7 separate regions of the Homo sapiens genome follow, and regions 1, 3, 4, 5, 6 and 7 are each linked to region 2. The links are contacts of gene promoters, found by promoter capture Hi-C in blood cells and fetal thymus (Javierre and others, 2016). All regions are on one chromosome and are shown on one strand. The core of a region is centred on a gene start or on the middle of the fragment in contact, and the rest is flanking DNA. Distances in the headings are between cores, read along the strand shown.

Region 1 (3,065 bases), core at 195-2,694, about 65 Mb after region 2:
AGGGGATTTGCAACAAGAATATCTGTCCATCCCCAGGTCATGGGTAACTGGGTCAAGTAAATCCTGGTCCAAGCCTTAGGGAGACAACCTGCGGTTGTACCAACTTTTCAGGCCATTTCTTCTCAAGTCATTACTTGAAGATCATTATAATATAGATAAAAGGAAGGGAAGATGGGGCCTATACCTTCCCAGGAAAGGTCTTGTATGTATTGATATATAAGTAAAAACCAAAGATATGTGATTAGAAATTTTGGTGAGATCTTATCTTTGAAGTTGAGATAGAAAATCCTGACAACAGATTTATATATTATTCCAGTGAATATGTAATAATATTCAACAATGGTGACGTTTTAGTGGTTAGATTAATTGGAGGTAAATATAAATTAATCAATGTAACTTAGAATTCATTTATATAAAATCTGTAAAAGCAGTTTGTATTAAGTATCACATACCTAATCCTTATAAGATACTAAAATGATTTAAGATTTGTTTATCTATTATATTTAAGTGAATGCTACTAAGATATATAAGATGCTTAGGAGGTTTTCTTTCGGTTTATTTTTTTAAATTTAAATAATATTTTCCCCACTCTTTTTAGAGGCTGGAAAGAGAGTATGGCTGTCCTTGTATCACAGGAAAGCCAAAAGTTGCCTTTCGAGAGACCATTACTGCCCCTGTCCCGTAAGTATGCAACGTAATTAAACATTATGAGGCTGAAATTGAAGCTTTTTATTTTGGATATACATACCACTATTACTGTTTTAAAGACATTTTTATGTAGTGATACTTTGTATTATGGACTCTATAAAGTTCTATACTGTAATCAAGACATTTATATAAAGTGACACTTTGGGATTATTTGGCCTCATAAGCTAGATGCCAGTGAAATTGGCATACACATCAATAGACATGTTTACACTTCCAGTGTTAGGGTTTTTGTTTATTCCAGTTGTACTTCCTTTGGCAGACGGCTATTATGTTTTACTTTAGTGCCGTATTGTGGATGCCAGAGAACTTGCATTTGCCAGGGAATAATCTCCTGCAAGTGAAGAAAATTAATGCCATGATAAAATTCAGAAAACATTTAGGAAAACGTAGTTGGGTTTATGTTTTGTTAGAGATAAAACAGTCTTCACAAAGAATAGTACTTTTGTTAAATTGCTGCAATTATAATATACTTAAATCTGGTGCCTATCTGGATTTACATGAATTCTGATTTAGAGTCAAAATTAATAAAGCATACTGTGGCTATACAAGGAGTCTCAGTTTTCAGAATGGCATCAAATAAAGGTAAATTATACTTTACCTGAGATGCTATATTATGAAGTAGAATGGTGTAGTCTAATTCAATAAAGTCATCATTTCTTTGCTATGACAAAAAATAAAAACGTGTTGTTTAAAACTTAATATCTTTGGCAAAAATTACATTTAATTTTGAAAATCATCTTTGATTAGATGAATATAATATTTCCATTTAGGTAAAAATAAAAATTGAATGTCATAATTTCAATTTAATGTGACAAAATCTATTCTCTTACACTAAATAAAGTGTTCTTTCAAGATGCATTTTAAAATCATGATCTTATATTTGTTCCCCAAGAAATGTTTACCTGTTTTTAGTTTCCAAGTTGTGGTGGCTACTTAAGAGAATTAGCAAGTGTAGCTTGTTATTTAAGAATGCTCTGTGTTTCCATTGTACAGAAAAGCATAATTTATGGGATAAGCTATAGCAATGGGTGTTTACATTGAAAGAATCCAATTTTATAACAGAAATTCTCTTTTTGAAAACTGAAAATAAGGCCGAGCACAGTGGCTCACACCTATAATCCGAGCACTTTGCGGGGCTGAGGTAGGCAACTTGCCTGAGCCTAGGAGTTCAAGACCAGTCTGGGCAACACAGTGAAACCATGTCTCTATGAGAATAAACAAAAAATTAGCCAGGCATGCCTGTGTGTGCCTGTACTCCCAGCCACCTGGGAGGCTGAGGTGGGAGGACCGCCTGAGCCTGGGAGATTGAGGCTGCAGCGAGCCATGATCACACTAATGCACTCCAGCCTGGGCAACAGAGTGAAACCCTGTCTCAAAAACAGGCAAACAAACAAAAAAACCAGAACACCTGAGAATAGTAAAATGTAGTGAGTGTAGTTGTGTGATTGTGTAATTAAAGCTTTTTTCTGTACTGTACAGTAGAGGGAAAAAACAGATAGTTTCAGTATGGCATGACTATAGTAATTTGAACACAAAACTTAGATTGCTAAGGGAAATAATCTGTATTAAGCTGAGCACAAAAGCTAAATGTTGGATTATAACTCAAGACTTCACTCTTCTGAAAGCACAGCTTTGCTTGTGACTGCCATAAAAAGTGGCCCTGAGGATCTCTATAGAGCAGATTAAAGGTGAGGAGAGTCATTACAATTGTCCCTTAGTATCCATGGAGGATTGGTTCCAAGATTCCCCTCAGATACCAAAATGCACGGATGCCCAAGTCTCTGACATAAAACAGTGTAGTATTTGCGTATAACCTATGCATACCTTCTCATATACTTTAAATCATCTCTAGATTACTTATAATACCAAATACAATCTAAATGTTATATAAATAGTTGTTATATTACTTAGGGAATCATGACGAGAAAAAAATCTGTGCATGTTCAGTACAGATGCTACCATCCATTTTTTTCCCCCAAATATTTTTGATTCTCGGTTGTTTGTATCCATAGATGCAGAACCCATGGAGAGGCCTGACTGTATATTGTACACCTGGGATTCTGTCTTGCTGCTACTAATAAAACTCTCTCAACCTTTTTGTTCTAGAAGAGGGTTTGAGGAAAGTATCATAGTTAAATCTGACTTGACTAACCCGAAAGATTAAGAGCTATGATTACCGTGATGCTTTTTGAAAGTGCAGTCTAGATACTGTGTATTAACAGGAAGTGTTTCACTGAAATCCTTGGCTTTGCCTTGCTTTTGTTATGCTTCCTAGTCTCTATGTTCCCAGAGCATGCAACTAACAAAGCACAGTTATTAGGCAAGTTTGAGGCAAAGGAGGCCTGTGGTTTGCATCT
Region 2 (3,027 bases), core at 528-3,027:
GAGAACTAAATTAATTCTATCCTTTAAAGGTCGATTCTTCTCAGGAATGGAGAACCAGGTCTTCCTACCCATAATCACCAGATTCTGTTTACCCTCTACTGAAGAAGTTGTGGTCATTCTCTGGAAATACCTGAATTCATTCCTGAGCGGCGGCCTGGGCAGGTCCCCGTTCTTGCCGATGCCCATGTTTTGGGACACAGCGACGATGCAGTTTAGCAAAAGAAACATGACAGCAGCGGTTAACACCTCCGAACTTGCTGGCTACGCCAGGAAGCCAGGCCAAGAATGCCGCGAAATTCCCTTCTTCAAATTTTTTTACGTGCCTACATTGCAAATACAATACCACTGTATTAATTAATTGCAACATTCTGGAATGAACATAGAAAAATAAATTATATAAAATATATTTATAAAGTATAAATTTATAAAATATTTATAAAATATAAATTTATAAAATTATAAAAAATACAGAGGCTGAAAGGTTAGACCGACTTTTCCACAAACATTAAACAGACGGCATCCAAGAGATGGCATCATTTCATTCCTGATTATCATAGTCTTTTGTACCAAATCTAAATTCTAATAAGATGCATTTTTTAGGTGACTTGGAAACTTGTTTAAATAAATAAATATATTAAGCTTCAAATCAGATTAGAAGGAAAGACATGTTTTTACATGAATATAAGACTTGTACCTATAGCATGTACGTATATTGATATGAGCATCAAGGAACAACTCAAAATGATGATTATTAACTATCAGGGACCATATCAAACCGGTTTTTTCTAATTGCTGATTGCTGCTACAAATGATAGTTACTGAAGCATGACACCAAAAGAGCAAATAAACTTCTATTCGTGTCAAAATAGGTGTAATAAACATCTTCCTTGGAGAACCATTAAACATTGCTCCCTTGTAAAGGTGAATTGGGGAGGCTAGAGTGGAGGGTCCTTTTGGTCTTCACGCATTTGGTATCAACGCGACAAAAATCACAATGATCACAATAGTGAAAATAATAGCAGCTAACATTTGGGCATTTACTGTTTCCTAATCACTGTTGTAACCGCTTTACATGCCTACTTCAGTTTAACACTCTCCATTAAAAGGAGAGATTATCCCCATGGGCCAGGTCTGGGGAAAAGCATGACTTAATTTCTTTTTCATTATATTCCACCCTTTTATCCTTGGGTACTGAATGTCTAGGTTAACAGGGGTCACTAGATTTGGTAGATTAAGTCAGTAACTAGCTTCGCTTTGAGAATATTTTAAATCAGTCATCATACAACATAACCCCAAAACTCATTCCTTTATTGAGCCCCATGCATATACACACTGTTCAGCACAATATGCGACTTTTTATTTATTTTTGAGACAAAGCCTCGCTCTGTCGCCCACGCTGCAGTGCAGTGGCGCGATCACGGGTCACTGCAACCTCAAACTTCTGCCCAAGCGATCCTCCCACCTCAGCATCCGCAGAAGCAGGGGCCGCACAGGCGCGCAGATGTGTGACTTTCTAAGGTCCGGCCGCCCAAAGCTACGCCGACCAATCCAAGTAGCGAAAGTCGCTTTGGCCCTGGCCCGTTACCTCCGCGTCCTGGGAAGTATCAGCCTTTACCAGCTACCGGAAGTAACTGCGCACGAAATCTCCCGCGGGAGCTAAGCCTCTTCGACAAGAATTCTATAGCGCGAGCAAATCAGTATCTCGCGAGAAATTGAAGAGGAAACGTGAGAATGAAAGTGGATGCCCGCGAATCCCGGAAGTCAGACTGTTTTTTTCAGTTCCCTGGAGGCTTTTTGATACTGATTCGCGTACACCTGTTGTTTGAAAGCTCTCAGCGGGACAATGCTGACCCAGGTGAGACCTGGGGCCCGGCTGGGTACCTCTATCTGAATGAGACGCTTCTGGACGCGGCCGAGGTGGCGAGGGAGGGTGCTGGGATGGGGGAACATCACCTTTGTTCGTCCCCTCGCGAGATCAGCGTTTCTTTGGCTTTACTGTCAAGCCCTGAAATAATGCTGAGTGCTGTAATGCTGAGTCCCTTCCGTCCAGCTCGCAGACTTCTAGTACCCACTCCCTCCAGCTCTTGGAGGGCTGAGATTTGTTTTCTGTGTCACAGCGGTATCCCGGGAGCTTAGAACAGTGTCTGTTACATAGTAGGCATTGAATACACGTTTCTTGGATGAATAAATGAAACAATTGCAAGGAAGTTCACGATGAAATTGGAGTGACTTTTCTCCCTAAATTAACTTTTCACTTTAAAATAACGTTGCAAAGATAGTACAGAGTTCTCAAATACCTTTCACCAATTTTTCTTGATGTCAGCATCCCCGGTGACTTTTTAGTTTTGTTTAGATACAAGTTCTTGCTCTGTCACCCAATCTGGAATGCAGCTGCTCCATCATAGCTCACTGTAACCTTGAACTCCTGGGTTCAAGCGATCCTCCAGCCTCAGCCTCCCTAGTAGCTAGGACTACAGGAGCAGGCCACTACGCCTGGCTAATTTTTTTTTTTTTTTTACTTTTTGTAGAGACACGTCCTTGATATGTTTTCCAGTCTGGTCTTGAACTGGGAAATGATCCTCTCGCCTCGTCCCTGCAAAGCATGAGCCAGCTGGAGTACAGTGGCGCGATCTCGGCTCACTGCAACCTCCACCTCCTGAGTTCAAGCGATTCTCCCACCTCAGCCCCCTGAGTAGGTGGGGTTACAGGCGCCCACCACTACTCTCGGCTAATTTTTGTATTTTTAGTAGAGACGGGTTTCCCGTGTTGGCCAACCTGGTCTTGAACTCCAGACCTCATGTGATCCTCCCGCCTCTGCCTCCCACAGTGCTGGGATTACAGGTGTGAGCCACCTGCCTAGCCCCTACAGTGACTTTTTAAAATTAATTTTGTTCCTTTTGACAGTTTCTTCAGCCCCAGTAGATTCTGTTTTAACCTTTGCTTCACATTTGGAAAATAATTATTTGGAAAAACCTTGCTTTTTCATAATTAGATAATGTACAGTTTTGGTACATGTAAGGTATTGCT
Region 3 (2,771 bases), core at 216-2,715, about 57 Mb after region 2:
GGTCAGCTCGTGGTGCTGCGGGGACACCGGGCCGGCCCCGCCGCCGCCGCCGGGGCCCGAGATCACCGCCGCCGCGGCGGGCACCGCGGACGAGCCGGGGCCCGCAGCCGAGATGGTGGCGGCGGCCGGGGGCGCAGCCGGGGACGGAGTGTGCTGGGGCTGCGGCGGCGGCTGCTTGCTGCAGGGTTTATTAGCGCTGGGGCCGGTGGAGGACGGGCGGCTCATCGCGCTCCGAACCAACCATGGAACTGCGGGCGCCTGCCTGCCGCGGGGCCGCCCGGGTCAAGGCGGTGCGCGCCCCGCGGGCAGCGAGCTCCGAGGCAACGCCACGGCGCCCAGCCCAGGTCCGGGCGGCGGAGACGCTCGGCGCCCGGCAGGCGGAGGGCTGGACCGCGCTGATGCACTCCGCAGCCCCCGGCGTTCCGAGCACGCCTCCGCGTCGGACCCCGCGCGGTGCCCTCCTCCCGGCGGCGTCCCGGGCCCCGAACCCCAGCGGTGCGCAGAGCCCTGGCCCACCCGCTTCTGGAACAGCCGCTGACGCAAGCCCCGGGGGCGCGCGCGGACGTGACGCCTGGACACGTGTGCGGCCGCCCAGGCGCGCGGGGACTGGCAGAGCCACCCTGCGCCGGGGCGCTGGCTCCGCCCGGCTCCAGCTGGCAGCGCAGGGGGCCGCCTAGCGCCGGCGCTTCCTGCTCGGGCTGCGGGCCGGGCCTGCGCCAGTGAGCATGCCTGGCTCGCTGCAGCCCCGCGGGGTTGTCTTTTCTGGGTTGAGGAGGGGGGCTACTCTCGGGGAAGCGTCGCCGAAGTCCTCTGGCCACACCCCGGGGTGCCTGGCTGACGCGTCCCTCAGCTCAAACGAGAAAGGCAACTTCAGGCGGGGCGGGAGCGTGGACGGTGGGTGGGACCGGACGCGGGCGGGCAGGGGCGGGGCGCGGGCGCCCCTGCACTAGTCGGAAAAAACCGAGAGGTTTCTCTTCTCAGGGCTGAGTCACCAGCACGCAGGAGAAGAGGGCGAAGCGGCCACCCGCGTTCTGTGTTCGGAGTCAGGACGAGAAGCATTGGGTGGGAGCAGGGCGAGGGGCTCGAGTTGGGTCTGCAGCGGGCACAGGACCTAGTTTTGTACAGTTAACGGTGGGGTTGAGTAAAGAGGGGGGCGGTGGGGAGGATGTAAGCTCCCTTTATTCCTTTCCCAGCGGACCAGGAGGAAGCTTCGTTGAATTGAGCGCCCCTGGCTCGTATAGCAGGCCGAGGAGGGAGCTCATGGGCAGCGTTGGCTAAGAGTTCGAGATCATCTAGAAATGTCAGAAACGTAGGTTGGGTCGTGAGGTCTCTGAAGACAGTGGGTGAAACTCCAGTGTAAGGCGCTGCGTCCGCTTGGTAGAGAGCCGGCCGAAGTCCGAGTCTTTGTTGCGAGGCGTAGGGCCACCCTGCGCGCCCAGCAGAAGCGCTAGAGGGCACGGTTGCCCGGGGTGAACCGCATGTCCAAATGTAACTGTGTGCTCCGAGTTAAAATTGTTTTTCTGCAGACTTTGCTTGAGCCAACGATTCCGGAATTGGGGAAAGGGTTACCTTAGGTAGAAATCGGAAATTTATAGGAGACACAGAGGTAAGGACCAACTGTTAGGACTGAGTGAAAAATGGTTCCCTCCAACTGTAAAAGTGGAAAAAAAAATACCTATCTTATAGGTGGGGCAGTGAGGAGTAAATGAGTTTAATATATTTCAAGCTTTTAAAACAACCTCGCCCATCATAAGCACTGTTTAAACATTAGCTCTTATCTTTTAAAAATATTAGTGGATGTTTAAAATGAATGAATACAATTTGTCCAAGAAATATGGCGTAAGAGCCCAGAAGAAATAAAGTTTAATCTTACAAAGGGCTTCTGTAGAAAGAATACATGCATGGAATTGATGGAATTTGGTATAAATCTTGAAAAAACTTAATAGGTGTATTCAATCGTTCAGTAAATGTTTCCTGAGCATTTATCATGTGTCAGCTACTGTTGGAGCTCTGAGAATGGTTCTCATGCAGTTTACATTCTAGTAAGAGAGCAAGGCCCAATAACCAAGCACTCGTGGGAGAAGAAGGATTTCAGATACCACGGGGTGGGCAGGCATTATAGCAGGAGCTAAAAAGCACAGAGTGAAAGCATGTATTCTGGGATTGCATTGGGACTTGGAGGGGATATAACGGGAGTGTAGGGGTGTGGCGTTAGCACAAGGGGAGCCTCAACTGGCTTAATAAGACATTTACCTCAATGATAGGGGTAAACCACTGTAGGGTTTTGTTTGTTTTTTTAAGAACACACAACAACACTAGGTTTTGTAGGTTTTTGGAAGCTCTTTAGTAACATGGCTGAACCTGAGTTTTTGGATAGGTAGGGAGCATAAAATAATAACTAATGTTAATTGAGTGCCCACTGTATGTTGGGCATGGATAGTTTTAAGTATTTATCATAACTCTCTGTGATGAATACTACTGTTATCTCCATTTTACAGTTGAGGAAACCGAGACATAGGTTACTTTGCTCAAGATCACACAGCTGAGAATGTGGGAACACGCTAGGAGCCCTTCTTAACTACTAGTCTGTATGCCTCTAAATTATGCCTGATTCCTACTTACAGTCTTGTTAAACAGTTAAGATTAGCACACTCAACAGAGTCAGAAAACAGTTGTTCAGCCTATAATAAAGCACTAAATTTTGTGGGCAAACTTTACATAAACTCTTTCCTTAGCTGGTCTAGAGAGAAAAATTAAATCATGTTCTATTT
Region 4 (3,139 bases), core at 551-3,050, about 65 Mb after region 2:
AATAAAGGAGAAAGGGAAAAAAATTAAGTTAAATTTAAGCTAAAATTTGTATTTTCTATTAAAGTATTTTTTGGAGCTGTCTTTGTGATTTTATCTGCCCCAGTGTGTATTTTCAAATCTGCAGTAAAAAGTGTCTCCCATTTTAATTAAATTTAACTTATTCATTAATTAATTTTAAAAGAATACGTCTTTACTGTCTTGTTTTGAAGTCTGTCCTCTGATTACAAGAGTTCCAGGCTTAAAGGTTTCCCCTGGTGCCTTTCTCAAGCTATCTCATATCCAGTGAGATTTCTTGGAGGAATAATGTCCACCATACTCCTTTTAATTGTCTGTTGTTCTCTCTTATAAAAGGTGCATAGAATTGAGCTCTCGTATTTTTTTCAGGTTAATTGGAAGGCCTGCCGATGGTCTTCATCAGGGGTGATTCCTAATGAAAAAATACGAAATATTGGAATCTCAGCTCACATTGATTCTGGGAAAACTACATTAACAGAACGAGTCCTTTACTACACTGGCAGAATTGCAAAGATGCATGAGGTATATATTCACGGTTGATTCCGGATTAATTAGAACCAGATTTTAATTGTTTTGTTGCTATTATTTAATAAAGCTTATAAACCTGAAAGATTAAAACAATGGTAACAGCGGACTTTTGACAGTTAGGCTTATCTGAAAGTTGCTTAAGTTAAGTATCTGTGTTCTGGTTTTATTTTTATTTTTTATAGAAGAGGTCTCACTTTGTTGCTCAGGCTGGTCTCAAACTCTTGGGCTCAAATTATCATCCTGCCTCAGTCTCCCACAGTGCTGGGATTATAGGCATGAGCCACTGCACCTGGCAACTGTTTCCATTTCAGTTAAGATTTCTTTCCTTCTTGGAATGCAGGGACAGAGAAAGTCTGAATTGCTGTGCTTGTGTTTAGGTGAAAGGTAAAGATGGAGTTGGTGCTGTCATGGATTCCATGGAACTAGAGAGACAAAGAGGAATCACTATTCAGTCAGCAGCCACTTACACCATGTGGAAAGATGTCAATATTAACATTATAGATACTCCTGGTGAGTTGGATTCTTGGTTTTATTGCAGCTTCTTTGGCAAAAGCACATTTGGTTCTTTCTCTTACTGTGACCCAATTAGTTTTTGATTGTCAAATACTCAAAAGTGTAACACTGAATTCCTATTAAAGAAGACTAACTTAGGACCTAGAGCACTTCATCCTTATGTAGTTTTCTTGAAAATTTGTGCAAGTAAATTGTGAGTAGGCAGATTCTTGCCTTTTACATATTCTAGCTGATTCTAAAGGTGCCTGTGCCCTAGTATTTTCTTGAAGTGATCTTGCCAGGCCCTGCACCTAAGGGTTGGTGAATAGTATTGGTGAGCTCAGGAATCTACATTCTTATTAGAAGACTTATGTGATGAGCAGAGATACAAAAACTTCTAATAGTGCATATATTAAAAATTCAGATTGCTCTTTAAGACCCTCTCATACTTCATCTTATTCAGGGCATGTGGACTTCACAATAGAAGTGGAAAGGGCCCTGAGAGTGTTGGATGGTGCAGTCCTTGTTCTCTGTGCTGTTGGAGGGGTACAGTGCCAGACCATGACTGTCAATCGTCAGATGAAGCGCTACAACGTTCCGTTTCTAACTTTTATTAACAAATTGGACCGAATGGGCTCCAACCCAGCCAGGGCCCTGCAGCAAATGAGGTAATGAGCCTTAGAATAAACAAAGAGGATGTGATGATCTAGACAGCAAACCTTATATCCAAAAGGGTGATTAATTCACTGTCATTAAACTTTATTCTTAAATTTAGTTTTTTAAATATATTTATGTGAGTTAGTAAGTGGAACACTGATTTTAGTAAATTGGCTTGTGGTATGATCTCATCAACTACCTTATCTCTAAAATGGGGACAATATTACTTAAATTCTAGGGAGGTTGAAGATGAATTCAGAAAACAGTCTGACCGTTTATACTGTTTTGCTATTATGAGAGAAGTTATAATCTAGATTCTAAAAATACCTTGTGTTTTATTTAGACAAAAGATCATCTTTGGTTTTAATTTTTCCTTGAAGCATTTTAATTAATGCCCTTAAGTAGTTTGCCATAGAGATGAGATTTTCTTGTTTTCAGACGGAAACATATTTTCTAGGACAACAGTAACACTTCCTTTCTGTACCAGATAGAACCAGTAGTATTTATAGCATTTTAAATTTTACACAATATTATATATTTCACAAAGCCTTTAAAAAGAGTCAGAATTTCACTTTTCACCTTTTGTAGATGTGCACGTGTAGCTGTAGAGCTCATACTTACGTTTCACATGGCATAGTTGATGGATATGTAGGTGTAAAGTTTATGGTAGTGGACAGGCTGAGAATGGTGTATCTGATGACAAAAAATCTGATGGAAGTGATATATTTGATATGAAAGTGAACATTTTCTTAGTTGGGTGTTTATAACTTTTTTTTGGTAAATTGTTTTTAGTTTTTATCCTTATTTTACTTATGCTTGGCAATAGATGGTCTTTTTTCCCCAAATCTTCTTCTGAATTCCAAGGAAACACTGTTTTAGCATTTATTTGATTACTTTGGTTCATTCTTTTCTCCACTCCCATTTATTTGTTTTCCATTTTGTAACTTCTATAAAGCAGATAAAAATCTGGAACTTCTAGATCTGACCTTCATGCCTTGTCTTTTCTATGGTACTTATTCTTTCTGTCTCCTTCTCATTTTGGATTGGGCTTATGAGAGAAATCTTGGGGTTGATCTTCCAGCTCACTAATTTGATATTCATTTGTGTCTCTTCAGTTACTTAGCTTGCCTGAAAACTTTTTTTTTCAGCAATTGTGTACTTAATTTTCATAAACTTTCTCTTTCCTTGCAACATTTTTATCAGTAGAGGTAATTGTTTCTCAAATCTTTACATTTTATTTTCTTTCCTCTAGTAACTCTCTTCTTGGAGGTAAGTGCTATTAAGTTCACATTTCTCTTTCAAGCTTTTGGTTTCCTTCAAATATTTGGTGATTCTTAGATCTTTAACCATAGTTATAGATGGGAGTCTAGAGTCTAGACTAAACAGTGGTAGCTAGAGCATATTCTTTTCCAGTGAGGATTCTTGCCAGTGAATGCAGTTTCTATTC
Region 5 (2,757 bases), core at 187-2,686, about 87 Mb after region 2:
GAATACCACATTTTTATAACGGTTAAATTACTTCAGACTTGGTAAAAGGAAACCATATCATAATATTGCCACACCATCTTATGCAAAAAATGGAATTAGTATTTAAACCTCAAATGATATTATTTCTTTACTAGAAATGGAATGTCAAATTAGTCATTTTACAATTTTTGTGTTTGTATTTTTTTAAGGAGAAGTGTTGAGCTAAATAGCAATTCTTTGGAGTCCTATGAAAATGTCATGCAGAGTTCCTTGGGATTTGTTAATCCAGGAGTAGTTGAATTCCTTCTAGAAAAACTAGGAATAGATGAATCTAATCCACCATCTTTAATGAGAGGCCTACAAAGGTATAGTACATCAGTATTACTCTTAGATGGTGAGGGGAGTGGCAGTAAGCTCAGAAGCTGCGTTTAGCTGAAGGACGTATTTTACCATCCTAAGCCACCTAGTAGCAGGCATATGCCAAAGGTTGAATGAACCAGGTGATCCCATCTTCTGGACTGGACTGTCTTATCAGTGATTAATATGTGTACCATGTAACCAAGTAGAGAAGGATGCAGAAACTTTTTATAAGAATTTTGTGTGTATGCTAAAGAAAAATACTGGGTTTTTTTGTTTTTTGTTTTTGTTTTTTGAGTCGGAGTCTCACTGTGTCACCCAGGCTGGAGTGCAGTGGCGCTATCTCAGCTCACTGCAAGCTCTGCCCCTGGGTTCACGCCATTCTCCTGCCTCAGCCTCCCAAGTAGCTGGGACTACAGGTGCCCGCCACCACGCCTGGCTAATTTTTTTTTCTTTGATTTTTAGTAGAGTTGGGGTTTCACCGTGTTAGCCAGGATGGTCTCAATCTCCTGACCTCGTGATCCACCCGCCTCGACCTCCCAAAGTGTTGGGATTACAGGCGTGAGCCACCGCACCTGGCCAAGAAAAATACTGTTTAACAATAATAATCATTTCGAAAGTTCAAAGATTTTGGTATGTAAATAGAATGCAGATTTCTTGCTTGGGATTCATACTTTCACTGTCGAGTGCCTGTCAAGCAGAGTTAAGTATAGTTACTTAAAAAATATTTGTGGTTTAACTTTTTAATTTTTATTTTCTTTAATAGCAAAAATTTCTCTGAAGATGATTTTGCTTCTGCATTGAGAAAAAAACAATCCGCATCTTGGGCTTTAAAATGGTATGAAGACTGTCTTTCAACAATTGCATTATATCTAGTCTAAAAGCTTAGGGCAAGGCAAGCATGCTTATATCATCAATAAGACAAATTTGAGATGCATTAAAGTGATGCCTTTTTGACATGAGCTTTTCTTTTATAGATGTAAGTAGTCTTACATTTTACACTTAACAGATAAGTTTTACTCAGCATTTCAGTTTTCTCAAAAGGAATTAGTATATTGATATCTAGGTTTCACCAATATTTGTTGTGAAAATGTCCAAAGGCAGAAGAACGTTCCTTAGGTATATTGTGAGTACTCTGAAAACTAAATATTTTGCCAAGTTTGATGACATTTGCTTTTAAAACTTATTCACACTAACATTTTATTTAGATATTGTTTGAAGTGTTTGTGATGCTTTACAAATGTCTTTTTTAGTGTGAAGATCGGAGTTGACTATTTTAAAGTTGGACGCCATGTGGATGCTATGAATGAATACAATAAAGCTTTGGAAATAGACAAACAAAACGTGGAAGCTTTGGTAGCTCGTGGAGCATTGTAAGTGAATCATACATGGATTTTAAGGAATGTTTACCAGGTAAATGCGAACAAGATTTATGAAGAGCTTGTGAGATACAGCCCTCTATCTTTGTTTCATGTCTCTAGATATGCGACAAAAGGAAGTTTGAACAAAGCAATAGAAGATTTTGAGCTTGCATTAGAAAACTGTCCAACTCACAGAAATGCAAGAAAATACCTCTGCCAGACACTTGTAGAGAGAGGAGGACAGTAAGTATCAGATTTTGTTTAATAGTGGAGGTCTAATGTTCAACCAACCACTAAAAAATTTTGAACTTAAGGAAATAGTTTCTTAAGCACTTAATTTATAACACTCTTGGTTTCAATAAATAAATGGGAAAGTACAAGAGATTAGGCAAATACTCTTTTCCTAGATAATATACTCAAAAGTTTTTGGTTTAATGACTATACTATTTGTGTAGTCATTCCTGTTTGTGATCACAAATTCCAAGTTGATTAAATTTTGCAATATTCGTTTATAATTTATAGGAACTTCTATTTAATGATTGGAGCAGCTTTTTACATACTTACTAGGTGGATAACTAGTAACTACTTATATGTGGTTGTCTTATAGCCTTGTATTGATGTCTTTGAGCTGAGTGAATAGCAATACCCTGTAGTTACCTAAGCCAGAGATACTGTTCATCTTTGACTTGTCCTTTGTTTCCCATATCCAGTCTACTGACACAAAAGTGATCCCATTGTATTTGTTTTATAGTAATTTCTTTTTCCTTCTAAGAACCCAAAGCACTTTGCAACATCTTTTGACTGCTTTATGTCCAAACTTTCTCATTCTGGTGTTTCACAACCCAGACTTGTGAAATTCATCTAATGATTATGCTATTTACAGGCTCATTGTGATATATGTGTATGTTGGTATTTCCAAAGATTTCCAAAATTTTCTGTAGATAATTTTTCATAAACTACTAGGGAAAAAAGCCTGCTGGTATAATTCTGTGCTAAAATTCAAGATCATACTAAATTTGTGGACACCCATTTATCATGGGTTTTTGTGTATTACTGCAAA
Region 6 (2,776 bases), core at 138-2,637, about 55 Mb after region 2:
AATCTTATGTTAGCAATTGATTATGTTCCTTTACCTTCTTCTCTACTACACATCTTCAAAGAAAAATTTCTTCAATTCAGCAAACATAATCCAATTCACCTGATGATTATTTGAACTTAGATACGAACTGATGACCAAGTATATTTACCCCAATGAATGACTCTTTAACAGAATACTTTCTACCTTGTAGATAAAATATAAATTATGTTACATTTTTAAAGGGCTTAAAGACTTACAATCCAGTTGCTTAACACAGAAAGCGGACAGATGATCAGTGTTGTTCTTGGTCTCTCCTCAACATCAGTTTTCTTTGACCCCTCCACTGCACAAGCTCCTAAAAAAATGAACCACTGATAGAACCTTTAGCTGTTTTTCTGAAATATATATGTCAATAAGGAGATGGCAATAATGTGCCTCCATGAAAAGATAAATTAGGAACAATTAAAATGAAGCAGATGGACTTTTAACAGGGAATAAATTTTACCTCATCACTTAAAAAAACTAAAAATCCACATAGTGATTATGAGAAGAACCAAAGGACTATGACAGAGAGTAGGTCACAAGGAGGAAGTCTCTAATATTTTCTGATAGTCATAGTCATTCATTAAGACGAACATTTGTTTTATGCAGTTTTCTGAATTTGTGTTATATTTAATTTGGTAGCCAGCCAAGATGGCCCTCAATGATCTCTACTTCCTGATATTCACAATCTTGTGTAATCTCCTCCCATACTCCACCAGGACTGGTCTGTGTGACCAACAGAATATAGCAGAGAAGATAGTATGTCACTTCTGAGATAGATTACAAAAGAAGTTTCCGTATTGGGTGTGCAAGCTCACTCTCATACTCATTCTCTCTCTCCAATCTTTCACTCTGGTGGAGCCAGCTGCCACGATGTGAGGCCACTCAGGCAACTTATGGAAGGATGCACATAGTGAGGATCTGAAGACTACAGTTAGCCAGCAAGTAATGAGGTCTGCTGACAACTATGTGAGTGAACTTGGAAATGGATCCTCCCTAAGTCCAATGTTCAGATGACGGCGGCCCCTGAAGAAGAGTTTGACTGCAACCTCGTAAGAGACCATAAGCCATTAAACCATCCAGCTAAGCCACTCCGACTTCCAGCCCTGTCAAAGTGTGTGAGATAATAAATGTCTGATTTTAAATGGCTAAGTTTTAGGATAATTTGTTACACAGTAATAGGTAACTAATATATTACAACAAAAATTCTTAATACTTTTCTGTGGAGCATGTTTAAAAATAGTGATAATAAAGTGTTTTTACAAATTCTTGAAATAAATTCTAGAGATGGTATCCCTTACCAATGGAGTATCTTCCAGTAAACTTAAAATGCAAATTTCTGAGTTTTTAAAAAATTGTATTTTCACACTAATTTCAAAATTAAACTGGAAGGTGAGCAAAGTATCATACTGTATCTACGTATCATTCACAACTTGCTTTTTTCTCTCAGTGCTATCTACAGTAGTCCCTCCTTATCCACTGGGGGTATGTTCCAAGACCCTCAATAGATACTTAAAACCATAAATAGTACCAAACCCTATATATAATGTTTTTTCCCTATATATACCTACAATAAAGTTTAATTTATAAAGTAGGTGCAGTAAGAGATTCGTAACAACAAAGAATAAAACAGAACAATTATAACAATATACAGTTGACCCTTAAACAATATGTTTGAACTATGTGATGCACTTACATGCAAATTTTTGTTAACCAAACGTGGATTAAAAATACAGAATGGGCCGGGCGCGGTGGCTCACGCCTGTAATCCCAGCACTTTGGGAGGCCGAGGCGGGCGGATCACGAGGTCAGGAGCTCGAGACCATCCTGGCTAACACGGTGAAACCCCGTCTCTACTAAAAATACAAAAAATTAGCCGGGGGAGGTGGCGGGCGCCTGTAGTCCCAGCTACTCGGGAGGCTGAGGCAGGAGAATGGCGTGAACCCCAGGGGGCGGAGCCTGCAGTGAGCCGAGATTGCGCCACTGCACTCCAGCCTGGGCGACAGCGAGACTCCGTCTCAAAAAAAAAAAAAAAAAAAAAAAAAAAAATACAGAATGGGCCAGGCATGGTGGCTCATGCCTGTAATCCCAGCACTTTGGAAGACTGAGGCGGGTGGATCATGAGGTCAGGAGATCAAGACCATCTTGGCTAACATGGTGAAACCCGTCTCTATTAAAAATACAAAAAATTAGCCGGGCATGGTGGCAGGCGCCTGTAGTCTCAGCTACTTGGGAGGCTGAGACAGGAGAATTGCTTGAACCCATGAGGTGGAGGTTGCAGTGCGCCGTGATCGCACCACTGCACTCTAGCCTGGGCGACAGAGTGAGACTCCGTCTCAAAACAAACAAACAAACAAACAAAAAAACAGTATCTGCTGATTGCAAAACTCATGTATATGGAAGGCCAACTTTTCATATATACTCGTCCTGCAGGGCAGACTGTGGGACTTGAGTATGCGCACATTTTGGTATACACAGGGGGCCCTGGAACCAAATCCCTGACAAATACTGAGGGATGACTGTACTGTAATAAAACTTATGTGAATGTGGTCATTCTCTGTCTCTCAAAATACCTTATTGTATATAATATTTTAGAACTGAAACTGTAGAACGTGAAACTGCAGATAAAGAACAACTGTGTTTGGGATTTACACTTATTAGTATTTGTAGCTCTAGTGTATTCATTTTAACCAATTCATAGCATCATACTGCAAAGTAGATTACAATTTATTTACCATTCCCCTACTGGACAACA
Region 7 (3,147 bases), core at 76-2,575, about 87 Mb after region 2:
TCATTGCTAGTGGCTGTAGAAGATTCCATGGTATAGTATTTAAAAATGAAAATATCTTTTTTTTTTTGAGACAGTGTATTGCTCTGTTGCCCTGGCTGGAATGCAGTGGTGCAAACACAGCTCACTGCAGCCTCGACCTCCAGGCTCAAGCAATCCTCCTGCCTCAGCCTCCTGAGTAGCCTGGACTACAGGTGCACACCACCACGCCCTGCTAACTTTTGTCGCTTTTGTAGAGACGAGCTCTCATTATGTTGCCCAGCCTGGCTTTAAACTCCTGGCCTCAAGTGATCCCCCTGCCTTGACCTTCCAAAGTGCTGGAATTAAAGGTATGAGCCACTGTGCCCAGCCAAAAAGAACTTTTTTTTTTTTGATCAGGTAACATGCTCATTGTGAAAAATTCAGATGAGGCAAAAAATATAGACATTATATAGTTTACGTAAATCATTAGCCCATCTTCTGGAAATATCCTCTAATAATATATGGAAATATTAACTTTCAGACTTTATATATGTATATACACACTGCATATATATTTTAATATGATTATGTATGGTGTTTTGTGACATTCTTTAAAGTGAACATCTTTTTATGATGATGAAAATAGATCTACATCAAAATTTTAAAGTTTGTGTAATGTCCCATTTTGAATATTATATGGAGGCTGCAAACAGTCATTGATGTGGCACTGGAAATGGAAAGTAAGAGGGCTCAAATCGTAGTTCTGACACTTACAGCTTGTCTGATCTTACATGTGTTACTGGTTGCTATAGGGCTCAGTTGCTTAATTGAAATCACGAAGTCTACCTAGAAGAAGTAGTAAAGTGTTGGCTGGGTTCCAAATTCAAATGTTTTCGCTATGCAAGGCCTGAAGAGGGACAATACTTATTCTTTAGAGTTCAGGCAGTATGAGATGCTTTGGCCTGTGCCCAAGTGGAACTTTCGCATCCATACTCAAAATCACTCACATTGAGAACAAACAAAAAATACACTGAAAGCCAAAACAGAGAGAGAGAGAGGAGAGAAGAGAGAAGAGAAAAGGAAGAGAAGGGAGGGGAGGGGAGGACAGGAAAGGAGAGGGGAACCCATAAAGAAAAGCACACTGGGACCCTCATACACTGTTGGTGGGAATGCAAATAATGCAGCCACTTTGGAAAAGTCTGGCAATTCCTCAAAAGGTTTAAACATGGAGTTATCACGAGTCAGCAATTCCATTTCTAGCTATATACCCAAGAGAAACAAAAACATACATCTGTCTATACCAAAACATATACAGCAATTTTCATAGCAGCATTATTCCTAACAGCCAAAAAGTAGAAACAAAGCAAACTTCTATCAATTGATGAATTAATAAATAAAATGATGTGGTATATCCATACAACAGTATATTTGACAAAAAGGAATGAGTAGTAATACATTCTACAACATGGATGAAACTATAATACATTATACTAAATGAAAGAAGCCAATCATAGGCCAGGTGCAGTGGCTTACATTTGTAATCCTAGCACTCTGGGAGGCTGAGGCGGAGGCAGTGGATAACTTGAGCTTAGGAGTTCGAGACCAGCCTGGGCAACATGGTGAAACCCCATCTCTACAAAAAATACAAAGATTAGGCTAGGCGGGCGTGGTGGGTGGTGTCTGTACTCCCAGCTACTTGTGGGGCAGGGGGTTGAGGCGGGAGAATCACTTTAGTCCAGGAGGTGGAGGTTGTGGTGAGTGGAGATCAAGCCACTGCACTCCAGCCTGGGCAACAGAGTGAGACTCTGTCTCAAAAAAAAAAAAAAAGGAAAAAGAAAAAAGAAAGCCAGTCATAAAACAACACATATTCCGCGATTTCATTTATATTAAATATCTAGACTAGGCCAATCTATATAGGTAGAAAACAGGATAGTGATTTCCTAGGGCCTGGGGAGCTGGGGTTAAATCTAGAGTGAACGCTAACAGGTATGGGGTTATTTTTGCAGTGATGAAAATGTTCTAAAATTGACTGTGGTGATGGTTGCACAAATCTGTGAATATACTAAAAACTACTGAATTGTACATTATAAATGGGAGAATTATATCTAAAGAAAACTTTTTAAGAAAGCAAATGGGACATTATAATTCTGAAGGATCACAATGAGATACAATATAGAGTGTTAGCATAAGGTGCCCTTAATAAATGGTGGCTATTACTCATTGATGGGCATTTAGTTGTTTACATTTTTCTCATGATGATCAACACTTTAAAAAGAACATCCCAGCCCAGTGTGGGATGGCCAAGAGTTCAAGGTTACAGTGAGCTATGATTGTGCCACTGCACTTCAGCCTTGGCGATAGAGATCCTGTCTTAAAAAAAAAAAAAAAAATAGGCCGGGAGTGAATACATAGGCTGGGCACGGTGGCTCATGCCTGCAATCCCGAGGCAGGCAGATCATGAGGTCAGGAGTTCCAGACCAGCCTGGCCAACATGGTGAAACCCCATCTCTACTAAAAACACAAAAAGATTATCTGGGTGTGGTGGTGCGCGCCTGTAATCCCAACTACTCCGGAGGCTGAGGCAGGAGAATCACTTGAACCAGCAGGCGGAGGTTGCAGTGAGCTGAGATCTCATCACTGCACTCCAGCCTGGGCGATAGAGCGAGATTGTCTAAAAAAATAATAATAAATAAAATAAAATAAAATAAAATAAATATTGTAGTCCTAGCTACTCGGGAGGCTGAGGTGGCAGCATCACCTGAGCCTGGGAAGTCCAGGCTGCCACGTAATCACGCCACTGCACTCCATCTTGGGTAACAGAGTGAGACCCTGTCTCTAAATAAATAAATAAATAGAATATCCTGTACATAACAACAGTGAGCACTTTCACAGCCCTCATTTTTTCCCAGAATCTTCAGAGATGCAGACGTGCTCATAAAATGTTGTGTACATTTTATTTTTTTAGAATCTGAAAAACTGGGTCAGTGGGCGTTTCATGGGAAGTATAGAATGTTAGCAAAGTATCCTTTCTTAAGTTTTTCTGCGAAAACGGTAATAATGTAAGTATAACAAGGAGCACTTATAGTATTATTTTCCAAAGCCCTTGCTTAGGGAAGGAGCTTCAGTATTAAGTTGTTAAAATCCATACCCAAAGTATTTGTTATGCTTACAAAACTGGAGATGGTTCTG

The links. The method cuts DNA at HindIII sites, captures the fragments that hold promoters and counts their contacts. A CHiCAGO score of 5 or more calls a contact.
Region 1: a contact is called between a fragment that was not itself captured here and the fragment with the promoter of NSUN3 in region 2, in 1 of 17 cell types (total CD4 T cells). The highest score is 5.0, in total CD4 T cells.
Region 3: a fragment that was not itself captured here is called in contact with the fragment with the promoter of NSUN3 in region 2 in 1 of 17 cell types (activated CD4 T cells); the score reaches 6.6 in activated CD4 T cells.
Region 4: a fragment that was not itself captured here is called in contact with the fragment with the promoter of NSUN3 in region 2 in 2 of 17 cell types (activated CD4 T cells and total CD4 T cells); the score reaches 12.8 in activated CD4 T cells.
Region 5: a contact is called between a fragment that was not itself captured here and the fragment with the promoter of NSUN3 in region 2, in 2 of 17 cell types (total B cells and non-activated CD4 T cells). The highest score is 9.7, in total B cells.
Region 6: a contact is called between a fragment that was not itself captured here and the fragment with the promoter of NSUN3 in region 2, in 1 of 17 cell types (non-activated CD4 T cells). The highest score is 5.5, in non-activated CD4 T cells.
Region 7: a contact is called between a fragment that was not itself captured here and the fragment with the promoter of NSUN3 in region 2, in 1 of 17 cell types (total B cells). The highest score is 5.2, in total B cells.

The regions. Positions count from the first base shown.
Region 1 is chr3:158,665,706-158,668,770 of GRCh38, forward strand. GFM1 (G elongation factor mitochondrial 1) reads left to right here. Exons shown (of 18, transcript NM_024996.7): 13 at 599-681. It overlaps LXN (latexin), which reads right to left. Exons shown (of 6, transcript NM_020169.4): 5 at 1,307-1,369; 6 at 709-1,039. The coding sequence ends at 941. Among named protein-coding and RNA genes, the nearest start is that of LXN, 5.4 kb to the right of the region's middle. The HindIII fragment of the contact is 1,442 bases long and covers 724-2,165 here.
Region 2 is chr3:94,061,284-94,064,310 of GRCh38, forward strand. It overlaps NSUN3 (NOP2/Sun RNA methyltransferase 3), which reads left to right and starts at 1,778. Exons shown (of 6, transcript NM_022072.5): 1 at 1,778-1,855. The coding sequence starts at 1,844. It overlaps DHFR2 (dihydrofolate reductase 2), which reads right to left and starts at 1,633. Exons shown (of 2, transcript NM_176815.5): 1 at 1,463-1,633; 2 at 1-323. The coding sequence starts at 228. RefSeq lists an enhancer at 1,672-1,911. The HindIII fragment of the contact is 2,538 bases long and covers 638-3,027 here.
Region 3 is chr3:150,762,625-150,765,395 of GRCh38, forward strand. It overlaps SIAH2 (siah E3 ubiquitin protein ligase 2), which reads right to left and starts at 545. Exons shown (of 2, transcript NM_005067.7): 1 at 1-545. The coding sequence starts at 225. The region is part of intron 2 of SIAH2-AS1 (SIAH2 and CLRN1 antisense RNA 1); the gene reads left to right. RefSeq lists enhancers at 16-962, 1,481-1,540 and a silencer at 71-970. The HindIII fragment of the contact is 518 bases long and covers 1,207-1,724 here.
Region 4 is chr3:158,645,245-158,648,383 of GRCh38, forward strand. It overlaps GFM1 (G elongation factor mitochondrial 1), which reads left to right. Exons shown (of 18, transcript NM_024996.7): 2 at 385-537; 3 at 921-1,053; 4 at 1,499-1,703. Among named protein-coding and RNA genes, the nearest start is that of GFM1, 2.3 kb to the left of the region's middle. The HindIII fragment of the contact is 2,385 bases long and covers 609-2,993 here.
Region 5 is chr3:180,604,664-180,607,420 of GRCh38, forward strand. It overlaps TTC14 (tetratricopeptide repeat domain 14), which reads left to right. Exons shown (of 12, transcript NM_133462.4): 6 at 189-344; 7 at 1,103-1,174; 8 at 1,590-1,709; 9 at 1,818-1,940. Among named protein-coding and RNA genes, the nearest start is that of TTC14, 3.9 kb to the left of the region's middle. RefSeq lists a silencer at 828-1,083. The HindIII fragment of the contact is 437 bases long and covers 1,219-1,655 here.
Region 6 is chr3:149,055,067-149,057,842 of GRCh38, forward strand. HLTF (helicase like transcription factor) reads right to left here. Exons shown (of 25, transcript NM_003071.4): 14 at 237-334. Among named protein-coding and RNA genes, the nearest start is that of HLTF-AS1, 30 kb to the right of the region's middle. The HindIII fragment of the contact is 5,930 bases long and covers 1-2,776 here.
Region 7 is chr3:180,908,728-180,911,874 of GRCh38, forward strand. No RefSeq gene overlaps it. Among named protein-coding and RNA genes, the nearest start is that of FXR1, 2.4 kb to the right of the region's middle. RefSeq lists an enhancer at 2,934-3,147. The HindIII fragment of the contact is 8,016 bases long and covers 1-3,147 here.